5 separate regions of the Homo sapiens genome follow, and all the other regions are linked to region 3. The links are contacts of gene promoters, found by promoter capture Hi-C in blood cells and fetal thymus (Javierre and others, 2016). All regions are on one chromosome and are shown on one strand. The core of a region is centred on a gene start or on the middle of the fragment in contact, and the rest is flanking DNA. Distances in the headings are between cores, read along the strand shown.

Region 1 (2,700 bases), core at 15-2,514, 1.2 Mb before region 3:
ACATTCTCCAGGAGTTTCGTGAAAAAAGGGTATTGGGTTGGTGAATTCTTTGAGTTTGCATATTTGAAAATATCTTTATTCTGTTCTCACACTTGATTGATGGTTTGGCTACGTAGAATGTTCCAGATTAAGGATGAACCTCAAAAATGTTAAATGAAAGAAGCCAGACCCAAAATTTTTGGTAAGTTAATTTTTCCTCGATGTATTTCAGAACTGTGTATTAGGAACAACACATTAATAATTGTTACCTGTTAGTTGATAGGATGTAAGGATAGTAATTCAACCCTTCTTATTCCTAGTCTTTTCATGTGTATCTTTTTATATCCATTTACTTTCAACTTATATGCCTTTATATTTAATATGTGTCTCTTGCAGACAGCATATAATAGGGTCTTCTTATTTTTTAAATCCACTCTGTCAATTTGTAGTCTTTAATGTAATGTTTAGGGGGTCAGTAAATTATGGTTTACAGACCAATTCCTGTTTTTATAAATAAAAATGTATTGAAACATAGCCACACCCTTCATCTATATATTATCTGTGGTGGCTTTTGCTTTTAACAGTAATACATATTTCTTAAAATAAAACTTAGAGAAAAAAAGGAATCTGTTATACTTACCCACCTATTTACCATCTCTTTTGCTCTTCATTTCTGAACAGTAAAGTTTCCATCTAGTATAATTCCCTTCAGCCTGTAGAAATTCCTTTAGCATTTCTTGAAGGTCACATCTGCTAGTGATGGATTCTTTCAGTTTTACTTTATCTGAAAATGTCTTTCCTTCACATGTATTTCTGAGGGTTTTTTCCCCCCCACTGGACATGAAATTCTGGGTTACCGTTCTTTTCTTTTAGCACATTAAAAATATTATTCCATTGTCTTCTGGGACAGCATATAATCTGTCTTGGTGATTGTTTCTGGTAATCATTTCTGATTTGAAATCTGCAGATATTTGAAACATTGTTCTCCTTGAAGATAGGGGCCCTATCTTGGGTCCTATTCATTATTACCTAGCACAGTTCCTGATACATAGTAAGATGTACAATAAATGTTTCTTGAATTTATTTTTATTGTGTTAAGTTTTTAGTATTGATTGAGACTTGATAGACTCATTAAAGTAACATTTTGGCAGATCTGAATTGCCCAATAGTTATTACTGTGGTTATATTTTACACAAGATCATTTTACTAGACCTGAATAACCAGATGAAAAAAGCCATGCATTTCCCATTTTCTTAATTATATTTCTTTCATTGTTTCCTTGGTTACTTGGTTTTCTTTCTATGTAAAAGGAGAATTGGAGGCAGTAGATGCTTGTCAAAGCCTTTTTTCTCCTTCTCTTTTGCATAGACACACGACTCATCATTTTATATAATGAATAGAGGACATCCAGAAAGAAATGAACCAAAAAGTGATCTAGACAGCCCTACATTTCCTAACATTATATTTGATGTTTAATATCTACAGAGAGAATTAAATACAGCAGAGATTTCCTGTTGAAGCTCTCAAGTGTTTCCATCTGCAGAAAAAAACCAGACTTTCTGCCTGATCATCCCATTGTACTGCAAAAACCAGTAAGTAGTTTTCTAAGTTTGTATTGTAATATTATATTACAAAATATTTTTCTTTAACATTTTCATCAGACTCTACCTCTAGATTTTTAACCTTCCTTATTATAAGATATAAGTAATTCAGAAAACTACAAAAATCTAAAGATATAACCAATTATTATAAAGTAACTCTGTTCAAAAAATAGAATGGAATAGCTGTATTTTGTTTAAGAAATATTTTTAATGGAAAGGTCATGAAAATATTATCCCATACTCTAAAAGTTTTATTTTTTCAATTAAATTATATTGTCCACCTGGAATTAATTTTACTCTATGATGTGAGGTGGGCATCAAGTTTTACCTTTTTCTACATAGATATCCAGTCATTTTAAAAATATTTATTGAAAGGGTACTTCTCTGACATCTTTGTGGCAATGTATGCATGGTCTGTTAATGGGCTATCCATTCTGTTCAATTAGTCTTTTTATACATTATAACAAATCATCTCATGTATTTTTCTTTAACATGTCTTTGCTATTCTTAGCCCTTTATATTTCTGTGTTACCTTATCAAATTCCATCTAAATAAATACACATAATAAATACATACATGCATCTCTTAGGATATTCATTGGAAAGGACATGGATTTTGTCATCAGACATGGCTTCAAATTGTAGCTCCATTCTGTGTACCGGTAGTTCGAACTTGGACAAGTCACTTAACCTCATTGAATTGCTGATAAGGATGATAAGTTTTGCAATTGCTGATAAGGATGATAATCTCTGGCTGTTAGGATTAATAAAATAATGCATGAGATTACTGAGTATGATACCTTTCTCTCATTATGCTTTTAGTAAATGATTCCCATTCTTTGTGGTCTCTACTTACATTTGACTGGAATTTAACTTCCTATTAGAGTTTTCGTAAATACCTTTATATAGGTAAAGGCAGCTAGGACTCTTCTGAAATGAGATTCAGAATATAGGTATACTGAGAACAGTTCGAATGGGAGATAAACACTACTACCTTCTATCTCCATTTTTGGTATTCTAATTCTTTGGAATTCATAGTATTTTTTTCCTCAAATTATAATTTTTAAAAAACATTATGTTGTTCATAGTTTATATTAATATTTCTTAAACTCCCTAACTTT
Region 2 (2,700 bases), core at 185-2,684, 1.3 Mb before region 3:
ATGAGATTAAGTTAAAGATACTGAGATGAAAAGGTTTTCTTGGATTATCCATGTAAATAATCACAAGGGTCCTTATAAGTGAAATGAGAAAGCAAGAGAGTCAGAGTCAGAGATTTGAAGATGCTTCATTGTTGGCTTTGAAGATGGAGGAGGGAGTCAGCCAGGAGGTAAGGAATGCTAATGGTCTCTTGAGGCCAGAAAAAGTAAGAAAATGGATTCCCCACTAGATATCCCACAAAGGAATGCAGAATTCCTGACTGCTTGATTTTAACCCAGTGACCAAGGTTAACCATTTTGGACTTCTGACCTTCAGAATTATAAGACAAATTTGCATTGTTTTAAGACACTAAGTTTGTGGGTAAGTCGTTATGGCAGCCATCGGCAACTACTACATCTTCCTAATGTATATAATACATATATATATATATATATATATGTAATTGGTAAATTAAAATCCCCACCCATTATGCAGGCCACTGTTAGAGACAGCTGAGTAGGATCAGTTTAGCTAGTCTGACTAGTTAGTGTTGACTAATGTGGCTAGGGTGATCGGTGAGATCAGTGAGAATATGTGACAAGTGAGGCTGGTAACAAACTGTCCAGGCAAACAAGGCGGTATCCCTCAGAAAGACTGAGTGACATGAGGCATATCAAGTGTCAGATGACCAAAGAGGGAGAGCGGCCTTCAGCGTGAATGTTCAATAGGTGTGAGAGGAACCAAGTGGGAAACAACACTCTACCCACACTTTCACTAAAGGTGAAAGAACAATGAGTAGAATGGCACACATCTGAATGCCATTTAATTTAAGAGTATCATGTACTCTGGGCTTAACATGAAGCAAGAAAGAATGAGGACAGGAATTCTATCAGAAAAGAAGACAGTTTGACATTTCATGGGCTGTAAATCACAGAGAATCTAAAGAAAGATTATATACAGAGACACCACATAGACAGTAAGAATGTTTTAAACACAGCAAACATTGAAAGAGAAACTACAAACTAGGAAAAAATATTCGCCTTATTTATTACAGGTTTATAACTTTCAAAAGTTGTCTGAGACTGCAGGTGTTGGGCACTTCATACAGGGTGTTGCAGCAGGGAGAATATCCAAAGAGAGTATTTTCTGGAAAACAGGAAACAAAGAGGCTTTCTATGACAAATTAACAATGTTGCCAGTTTGTCTGCTTTGGTCAGAAGGTATTGCAATCCTTTAGACAAGAGGTATCTGTGAGAGAGAACATGAGAGTGAGAGTCAGAGTGATTTGACCTGTTTGACTCCATTACCTTCTGTTCTTGGAACTGTTCGCTTAAAGAAGGAAGTAAAAGGAGTGGGTCAGTCTCTCAGTACCAGGAAACATAGATCAGTGTCCAGTCAAAGAAGAAAGTTTTACATTTCTCCATGGAGCAAAAGGTCCACATATTTAATTAATGAAGGTAAAGAAATTCTTACAATTCTTTCTATATATTTCTTTAATAGTTAGGAAATACACCTGCTGCTGTAATTGATAAACCCTGAAATCTCAGTGACTTAACACAATAAAGTATATTTCTTACAACACTTCAAAACCGGTGTTCTTAGTGGGCAACTCTCCTATAAGTAGTGATTTAGTTTGCCAAGATCCTCCCTTCTTGTGCCATTTTCACCATGTGACTCCTGTGGGCTCCTTTGGGGTTCTTTCTTTCCACTTAGCTTTGAGTAGAAAAGAGTGTGGAGGATCATACAAGGAAGGTTTTCATGGCCTACATGGTCTACAAGTAGTCTACATCACTTCCACTGATGTTCCACTACCCAGAATTTGGACATATGACTACCCCTAAGTGCAAGAATGGCTGAGAAATGTAGCTTATCTGGGTTTCCAGGAGGAAAAGAGAATGGATTTTATAAATAAGTAAGTAAAATTTTAAATAAGAATTATAATTAAAAATATTAAATGATAAATAGATGAACTCCCTAGTGGAAAAAAAATGGCCAATACCATTGACCAATAAAAATATTAAATATTCAGAATCATTAAGGATAAAACTAAGATACAAAAACATATTTCCCTATTAAACTGTCAATATTAAAAATAATGATAATACCATGTTATTTTCCTATGCTGCTGAGAAATAGTCTCAGACGCTGTTTCAAAAAAAAATGTGTAAAAATGTTTTTTCAGGTTTCAGAGGACAATTTGACAGTATATATCTGAAAGACTTTTAAATGGGTATAGTCTTTGATCTAGGCTTCCAATTCAAAAAAATTATCAAGAATAAATAATCAGAAAAGTATTCAAAGATTTCTGTCTTTCATATTCTACATCACATCGATGAGCAAATCATGTTAGATCTAGCTTCATAATATGTCCAGAATCTGATCCCTCTTTCAACCTCCACTCCTTTGTTACCTATAATCCGATTTTCACATAGTAGTCATTGTAATCCTTTTAAAACTTATGTCAAATAAGGTCACTCTTCAAAAGCCTTTAAGAGCTCTATAGTTTTCTCATCTCAGAGGAAAAGCCCAACTGGCCCCATGTGATCTACCCCATCGCAGTCCATGACAAACTTCTCTGGTCTAATATCTACTTTCTACCCCTTCTCTCCTTGCTCCCTTTCATCGGGCTACACAGACTTCATTGCTGTTCCTACACGAACCAAGCATGCTTCCTCTTCAGGGCTTTGCTGTTGACCGTCCACATTTCTGCTTCACTGTCTGTG
Region 3 (2,700 bases), core at 201-2,700:
GTCTATGGCACGCGGTTGTAATGTTCTTCTGAAAACAGAAACTAATGCTAACCTTCCCTTAAAACCTGTACAAACCAATAAGTGAAAGCCATTTACAATTTCTGGCCATTTAACAGTCTTTTGGTTCAATTTATTGTGGCAAAAATAGCACACATTTCCTCTACTTAATCTTCCCTGTGAGAGAAACTGAGACTGGGAGAAACTGAACTGCTAGTATTGAGTTTGATATAAAACGTTCCTGACAACACATAATAAACCAAAACCAAAATAAAAACAATAAGAAGCAAAACATCCTTGATTCTAAAGCAGTGCGGTCCAATAAACATATAATGTGAACACCACCACATACAATTTAAAATTTTCTCGTGGCCACATAAAGTAAAAAGAAACACATAAAATGAATTTTAATCTTATATTTAACCCAAGATATCAAAAATGTTATTTCAGCATATAATCAATAAACAAATAATAAAATATTATAAGTTCTTTTTTTAATAAATACTAAGCATTCGAACTCTGGTATTTTACACTTAGGTCACACTTCAATTCGGACGGGCACATTTCAAGTGCTCAATAGCCACCTGTGGCTAAGAGCTACCTACTGGACAGTGCAGCCCTACAGCCCAATTTCAAAAATAAGGAAAAAACAAAGCAAACAAAACCCACACCCACTATATATAAACACACATCAATTTCAGTAAACCCAGCGTTTAGAGTTAGGCAGTGATTGCTGATTTTTGGAGTACGGAGCCAGAACGCCTAGGAGTAAGAGGGAAGGAGAGAAAGGGTAATGGAGAGATGTGTGGAGGAATGCAACTGCTGCATCTCCAGAGAAGCCTGTGCTCCCTACGGTGCCAGAGCTTGAAGGGTGGGTGCTCCCTATCTCCCAAGCTTGAAGGGCTCCCTAGAGGTGACGAGGTGAGGCCGGCCCCAAGCGGTCACTGCCATTTGGGCTCTAGAGCCCGCTTGTCAGGGGGCTTGAGGGGATGCAGGAGTTGAGGGCTCTTCCAGGGAACCCCAGTGACTGCCTACCTGTCGAGCAGCGGAGTGTGGATGTGCAGGTGCTTCACGGCCACCTGGACGCGCCAGTCTGCGTGGCGGGCGGACGACACAGTGCCAGAGGCGCCGCGGCTCAGGTAGCGCAGGTCGGCGAGTTTGTGGTAGGGAATGGTGGGCAGGGCGCTGCAGATGGCCTCCCCGTTCATGGTCCCGGGCGCTCAGGCCGGTTCCGGGTGTGCCCCCTGCTGCGGCGGCTCCCAAGGCTCCCACGCCGCGCTCAGGCGCCCAGATACGCCCCTGCACGAGCGAGGCCGGCAAGACCCTTTTTGCCCCGCAACACTAGGTCACGAGGGCGCCCATTCCCCGGATGGCCCACGCCAGCCGCTGCTTCTCCGAACCAGAGCTGACTTCTTTTCTAGAGACTGGTGCCAACGCCGTAGCGCCGCGAAAGAGCTTCCTCTCTCGCAGCCCCGGCCCTCCCCCCGGCGCGCGCAGCGACCAGCTCCGGCCGCCCGAGCTCCTCCCTCCCCAAACTTCGCAGGTTACGTCAGCGGCGGACGGCAAGGCGGGGAGAGGGGCAGCCCGCTCGCGGCCCTCCCGCCTGGCTCTCGCCTCGGCCTGCGGCCGGGATCCTCCGCCCGGGTCGCGCAGCGGAGGCCGAGGGCTGGGACGGGCGGCTGGGAAGTGGGAAAGGGAGCTCCTTTTGTCTTCTCTTCCCATCCCCCAGGTTTGGGAAAGTTTTCCTTTTGGGAAAGCCCCTCTCTTCAGCCTGCTGGCGGGTGTCGGATTGGTTAGCGACCACCGGCCCCCGCCTCCCCCAACAGGATTCTCCTTTGGGCCACAGGTCTTCCGGAAGTTGCCAAACCCCGGTAGCGGCAGCGTCCGGCTGGGGGCTTTATTAGGGGGCACCGGGGTCTGCTTTCCGACTCCCTTCCGACTCCGCGCCTGCGCAGGAAGCGATTTGGGGAGTGTTGTGAATTCCGAGGGCTCCACACTTAAGAGGTTGTACACTCACCTGTCTACCTGGACTCCAATTTCCATATTTCCAGCCACTTGAGGACTGAGAGGTGGATGATAAACCCTGTCATAGTGGAGCAAGTTCAGGTGTTTAACCGCTGTTATGGGGGATCTGCCTTTTCTCCCTCTTCTTTCTTACTTCCATAAGTATGTATGTGCAGAGATTGAAAAATAACCTTGAGAGAGTCCATCCATCTAACTCCAGGTAAGACTGCAAATATTTCTTTCTTATAAATCTGGGAGGAATGCAGTCAGTGTTTCATGCCAACCAAAAAAGACTGCAAACGTTTTTCCATCCTTCTGCCTTGAATACCTTTCTACTTAGATGACTATTTTGTAAGACGTGAGTGCAAATGTTATATACAATACCAACTCCATACTAGATGTTTAATTAATTCTAGGGATTCAGTAATAAGGAATGACTCGAACAGATTTCTGCCTACAGACAGCTAATGCTTCTTGTATTTTTGCATTACCTGAAATGAAAGTAGCAATGTTAGATTTTACAGTAGTGGGAGGTTGTAAACAATAGTATGTTAAACATTTTTGATCATTTATAATAAAATGTTCAGCACTAAACATATGGTCTGATACTCTGTGCTTTATTGCTTAATAAGCTTTTTTTTTTCTTTTCGAGAGGGAGTCGTGCTCTGTCACCCAGGCTGGAGTGTAGTGGCGCGATCT
Region 4 (2,765 bases), core at 241-2,740, 1.2 Mb before region 3:
ATTGTGCTGGGTGCATTGGAGCATGACTGATGGCATCAGTGGCATTTGATTATCAATTGATACAGGTAGAAAATTGAATTTGATTAACTGGTACAACTGAAAAATTGAATGTAGACAGACACACTGGCATAACATCTATACCATATATATTCCATATGGGTGTAGTGATTCCCTGAGGCTCATTCCATCTGATATAGTCTACATTTTGATAATTCCAGTAAAAGAAATTACCTGAAAAATCAGCAATAAGAAGTGAACGAAGAATTGTATGAAACAAACCAATCTTGCAAAGTAAACAGAGAGGCTGAAAATCTATCTTACAGGAAAAAGATGCTCTCCTTTCCTCTACTTCACAGCAGGAGCTGATGGAGCAATTTATTGTGGTTATTGAGAGAATGGAATTTGCAGCAGGCGGCACAAATCTATCCACTCTCTCACTCCCCCACAGCCTGTTTCCCTTTCCCTGGGGCTGTTCTAGTAGCTCGAGGTCATTTTCCCAACACCCATTAAAGTAGTGTTTCTGAACCTAAAAAATAAACTTGTGCGCCTTTTTTATAAATATAAAACATGCACTCAATCCCTGGAGATTGTAATACACTGAAATAGACTTTATCTTCTCTGTATCCTCATTAAAAAGAGTTTACTGAGCTCTATTTTGGGAAGTTTACACTGTGAACGGTGTATATATAGGTACTGTTTGCATTTTTCTTTTTTTTTGAAACAGAGTCTCGTTCTGTCATCCAGGCTGGGGTGCAGTAGCGCGATCTCGGCTCACTGCAACCTCCGCCTCCGGGGTTCAAGCGATTCTCCTGCCTCAGCCTCCTGAGTAGCTGGGATTACAGGCACATGCTACCATGCCCAGCTAATTTTTGTATTTTTAGTAGAGACGGGGTCTCATCACGTTGGTCAGTCTGGTCTCGAACTCCTGACTTCGTGATCTGCCTGCCTCGGCCTCCCAAAGTGCTGGGATTATAGGCGTGAGCCACTGCACCCTGAATTTTTAAATATTCAATTTTATTTTCAAATGAGTGGGCTCTTAAAAACTACACATATTCCCACCTTTGCAAGTCTTGAGTCACTGAAGTAAAAAGGACTAAAATGGGGTTTTGATTTGTGCCCTCTGAGTCTGGCGTGAAATAGAATAATAAAAATAATCATGGAAACACAGCATTTCCTGTGTTCTTGTTTCAAAGGCACTACTGGAAGATGATGAGCTGTTAGTGGCACTGAGGAAGTACTGTACTCATACTCTAGAGAGGAGGTCAGCCACCCAGACAACCAGGAAACAGTAGTAAACGCAATAGTGACTTCAGCTCACGTCTTCAGTGGATGGGAAGCATTGTGCTGAGCACTGCATATGGACTGTCTCACTGAATCCTCCCAACCATCTCATGAGCCTCTTGAGGAGGAAACTAAGGCTTAGAGCCAGTGAGGGTCTTTCTCAAAACCACAAAGCTAGTAAAATTCCATGTTTATTTCCAGAGCCAGACTTCTTAGCTAGAGAAATATTCTGCTGGGGTATGAATAAAATATAATTAATTGAACACTGAGAGGAAAAGCAAAACACCCAGAGACATGAAGTATCTGTTTATGCACACATGTACACACACATACACAAACACACACACATTTTCTAAAAACCTTCCCAAAGCAACATTTGAAGAGCATTATGAAATATAGTTTAAGCAAGCTCATAAGGTAGGGTTAGACTTGGTTGTGGAAGTTTTCTAAAAGCAGATGAATTTGGACCTGGGCTCTGAACTTGAGGCAGTGCATGGGCTGGCAGAGACTTGCAGCTGGGTGCACATTTCTGAGAGGAAGAATAGCCAGGTCTGAGGCACAGTGGGGAACAAACAGATTATATCAGAAATTCTATCTGTGCATCACCGAGGCAGAGTGTTTAGATGAGGGAGAACAAATAATAGTAGTGATATGGATTCCTGGGTCTGTCAGTAGGATTAAATATAGAGTCAGGACAAATGTCTAGCCTTTGATAAGATACTCATTAGAGAGTTACTTTAGGTTCCCAGTTAAGGGAATTCTATGATAACTGTTTCCAGAAAATTATTATAGTAACTATTTATTGAACCAGTTGGAGTGAAAAAATTGAAGATGAGGAATAGTATATTTTAGTAGCTTGAGATATCCGAAGCCTGAGCTGGGTGGTACCCATGGAAAGAGGAAAGAAAAGATCTGCTGCTGCTTCATTTTCTTTTAATGACCAAGGCCTGAAATCATGACTTCAGGGATGCCTGCAATTTCCTAATGGCTGAAATGGTCATTAGGCCACAGGGCGTACTGCCAAGGGAGCAATCACAGCTAGATGTCCTAGAGTTGGCGCCTCATCTACCAGAGATGATTTTAAATCAGAGTGTGGGCTGCCTGGATGCAAAAGGGAATTTCAACTTATTTGAAATTCAGTCTCTTCATTCAAGTTGTTCTATTTCATTTTACTTGGTGCCCCAATGATCAGACGACACGGGGTTTAAAGATTAGACGACACGGGGTTTAAAGATTAAAGAGAAAACATTCAGTTAAAGGCAGCAAATGACATCACCCAGGTGGAATGCTCTGTATAATTTAATGTGAGGATTCTCAAATATCTGTCTTCTAGACCCCCAGCCTTGTCTAAAGTAAGAAATGCCTTCACTGTATTCCCAGGCTGCCAAAGGCCTAAGGTGCAGGAGTCGGAGCACTTACCGCAAGCATCCACTTTGGGAGGAAGCACTCTCCACGTAGTGTTTCAGAGCGAGCTGGAATTCTTC
Region 5 (2,819 bases), core at 270-2,769, 1.3 Mb before region 3:
CCCAGCTACCGAGGAAGCTGAGGTGAGAAGATCACTTAAGCCCAGGAGTTCAAGACTGTATTGAGCTATGATTATGCCAAAGTGAAAAGAGACAAAATGAATAAATCTAAGTTAATTTAATTATTATAGGTTTAATCTATAATAATCCAATTATTAATCATTTAAATTAATAATCTTATTCTAATTATTGTAGGTTTACTAACTGTGGAATCTCCAGAATTACAAGTCCCATATAAGAGGAGATGGAGCTACAAGTAAATGTTTCCTTGAGGTAAAATCTGAGAGAAAGGGAAAGGCCAAAAGTACAAGAAATAATCTGTCTAAATCAGTTTAAGGCTGAAGTAATGGATAGAACATTGAAATGAAAGGCCAGGAAGCACTGTTTATTGTGGCAATTAGGCTGCAGCATCTGTCATTCTATTGATCTCTTGGATTGATTCCATTTATCTGGTGGGCCAGGCCAGTGTCCCCTGACTACTTCACCTCTCTCAGTGCATTATTTGGAGAGAGTTGTCTTCTATATAAAAGAAGCCCTTGTTTTCCATCAAGCTGCACTCCCCTGCTAGAACCTTAGCTCCTCTGCAAGGAGAGTAGGGTTAATGTATTAGGTTGGTGCAAAAGTAATTGCGGTTTTTGCTATTTGAAAGTCGTAGCAAAAACCGCAGTTACTTTTGCAGCAACCTAATACTTGGTGTTATTTTTCCAAGACAAATAGATATGTCTAATAAATTTTAGTGACTCGCTGATTTATTAATTAATTCAACCATTGAATAAACATTTAGTAAGCATCATCATAGACCAGGCATTATGACAAGCGCTGGTGAAGTAGCTGTGGACAAACCAGATGTGCCCCTGGCCTCGTGGAGCTTATGGTCTCTCTTATATTAGATTTATAATCTTCACTGCTTGTTCTGTCCATGTCCCTCCACTTCCCAAGCCTCCAAAAGAGTAGATTTGAGCATATTTCTGTCATTGAAGGCGTTTTTTTTTTGGCAGATTAAAAATTATATAGTACAAATCTTAGAAGAAAAATTCACAGGGTTTTACTGGCTCTAATGCCCTTTTAATGATTGTTAAGATCACCCTCTGAAATTTTCTTAGGAGATTTCTTTGAGCAAAGCTGAGGAGTGTATGGGTTGGTGTCCTTTTATGTAGTGTAGCAATATGTCACTTCCTCCTCTCCCCCTAATGCCCTTGTTTTCTTTATAAAACTGTCTTGCATTTAAGTTTCCTTTCTATCATACTGTGTAAGATAGAGACCTGGGATTACGAGAGAACTATGTAATGTTACTGTACAACTCAAGGAAAAGGCCAGAGAGGAAGCAACTTTTGTTAATAATGCTACTGCAAATAATTATTAAAATAATATTCATTATCATATACCAGGCAGTGTGTCTTGAATTTCTAGTGAGGTACATATTCTTTCCCCAAGAATAATGTCTTTATTGAGATCTGACAAAGTAATCTGCAAATTGCAAGACCTTAAGTATATTGTTGACTCATTGTTTCTTTAACATGTTTTTTTCTTCTTGATTAATACATTACAGGTCACTCTGGATCACGCTCAAATTCTTTTCATGGATTTAAAATTATTTTTATAATTTAAGACATGTACAGCTTCTTTTGAATTTCAGTGTTTGGCAGTGTTCTGTTATAAGCCTCCCAGAAACATAAGCATATCGTCATTTCAAAGTGGCCTCTTTCAGAGCCTTGGCTGCTGCAGAAATTTGTCTTATGAATCATTTGAACGAATACCACTTGTTGCTAATCCTTAGCAGTCTGAAAAAAATCCTATATTATAACCCAAGGATCAGGTAGAAATATGTGTATTTTAAACATACCAAAATGTTTTATGCTCTAATTCTTTTTAAAATATCACAAAGTTTAGGACCTAATACAGTGGATAGAAAACCTTTATTTCAAAAATAGCTCTTATTATGCTTAGCTATTGTGATTATATTTTATAGTGTTACAGAAGCCTCTTGAGATACCAGTTCTCTTTCGTGCTTCAATCATATGTTAGAGTGTGGCCCTTTCTAAATGTCCCAAGACAAAACTTTACCTTGGAAAAGTCTTCTATTCCTGTAGTTGAGATAGTTACAGAAAGGGGTTAGGCAGTCTCCTTTAGAAATCCCATTCCAGAGTAGTATATCAGGATTCCTTTTCTCAGACTTTTGTAACAAATATACACTTCTGGTAGATACTTGATTTTGAAAGTGGGCCTCCACCCTTCACTCACTCACTGAGTCAACCTTAGGACTCTCAAAAAAAACACTGTGTGTGTGTCTTTGTATTATGGGAATTTTCAAACATACACAAAAGTAGTGTGAAACTATGACCTTCCATGTCATTATATTCATCAGTTATCAACATTTTGCTACTTGTTTCATCTGGTTCCCCATTCTTTTTGTGGTGGTTGTTGTTATGGTTTTTGAAGTTTTTAATCCCACATACTACATTTTTTTACTCATAAACACTTTGGTGCATTTCTTACATTTTTAATGGTAGGTAAATTTTGAGACTAAAAATTGTTATATTTACTTTATTTTTGTTTTGTGTCTGAAATTAGCATGGTTCCCATTTTTGTTCCATGCTGAGAAGTTTAGTTTTCTTAGGTTCATTTTTGTTTCTTCTTGACTTCCTCCAACACCTTGTTTTATTCTTGTCATAGCCAGCAGTCATTATACTGGTTCCAATATAAAGACAGAGCATGACAGCTACATAATTTATATGTATGGATAAGCAATTTTAAAACTTTGCTTTCATCGACCATTTTTATTTCCTGGGAATCAGATCACTTGTGTAAAATTTTTATTGTA

Evidence for each region. Contacts are between HindIII fragments. The CHiCAGO score rates a contact against its expected background, and 5 or more counts as called.
Region 1: a contact is called between a fragment that was not itself captured here and the fragment with the promoter of RIPK2 in region 3, in 2 of 17 cell types (total B cells and naive B cells). The highest score is 10.1, in total B cells.
Region 2: a fragment that was not itself captured here is called in contact with the fragment with the promoter of RIPK2 in region 3 in 4 of 17 cell types (monocytes, total B cells, M0 macrophages and 1 more); the score reaches 8.9 in monocytes.
Region 4: a contact is called between a fragment that was not itself captured here and the fragment with the promoter of RIPK2 in region 3, in 2 of 17 cell types (total B cells and neutrophils). The highest score is 8.8, in total B cells.
Region 5: a contact is called between a fragment that was not itself captured here and the fragment with the promoter of RIPK2 in region 3, in 2 of 17 cell types (M0 macrophages and neutrophils). The highest score is 9.1, in M0 macrophages.

Annotation. Positions count from the first base shown.
Region 1 is chr8:90,959,613-90,962,312 of GRCh38, reverse strand. C8orf88 (chromosome 8 open reading frame 88) reads left to right here. Exons shown (of 6, transcript NM_001190972.2): 5 at 1,465-1,571. Among named protein-coding and RNA genes, the nearest start is that of C8orf88, 24 kb to the left of the region's middle. The HindIII fragment of the contact is 3,382 bases long and covers 1-2,700 here.
Region 2 is chr8:91,051,713-91,054,412 of GRCh38, reverse strand. No RefSeq gene overlaps it. Among named protein-coding and RNA genes, the nearest start is that of PIP4P2, 12 kb to the right of the region's middle. The HindIII fragment of the contact is 4,163 bases long and covers 1-2,700 here.
Region 3 is chr8:89,756,566-89,759,265 of GRCh38, reverse strand. RIPK2 (receptor interacting serine/threonine kinase 2) reads right to left here and starts at 1,450. Exons shown (of 11, transcript NM_003821.6): 1 at 1,033-1,450. The coding sequence starts at 1,205. It overlaps PARAIL (palmitic acid regulated anti-inflammatory lncRNA), which reads left to right and starts at 1,555. Exons shown (of 5, transcript NR_125822.1): 1 at 1,555-2,221. RefSeq lists an enhancer at 975-1,044 and a silencer at 1,585-1,704. The HindIII fragment of the contact is 1,742 bases long and covers 894-2,635 here.
Region 4 is chr8:90,940,834-90,943,598 of GRCh38, reverse strand. NECAB1 (N-terminal EF-hand calcium binding protein 1) reads right to left here. Exons shown (of 13, transcript NM_022351.5): 10 at 2,701-2,765. The region is part of intron 1 of LOC105375634 (a long non-coding RNA gene); the gene reads left to right. Among named protein-coding and RNA genes, the nearest start is that of C8orf88, 43 kb to the left of the region's middle. The HindIII fragment of the contact is 7,402 bases long and covers 1-2,765 here.
Region 5 is chr8:91,021,741-91,024,559 of GRCh38, reverse strand. All of the region lies in intron 1 of PIP4P2 (phosphatidylinositol-4,5-bisphosphate 4-phosphatase 2), which reads left to right. Among named protein-coding and RNA genes, the nearest start is that of PIP4P2, 18 kb to the left of the region's middle. The HindIII fragment of the contact is 3,484 bases long and covers 1-2,819 here.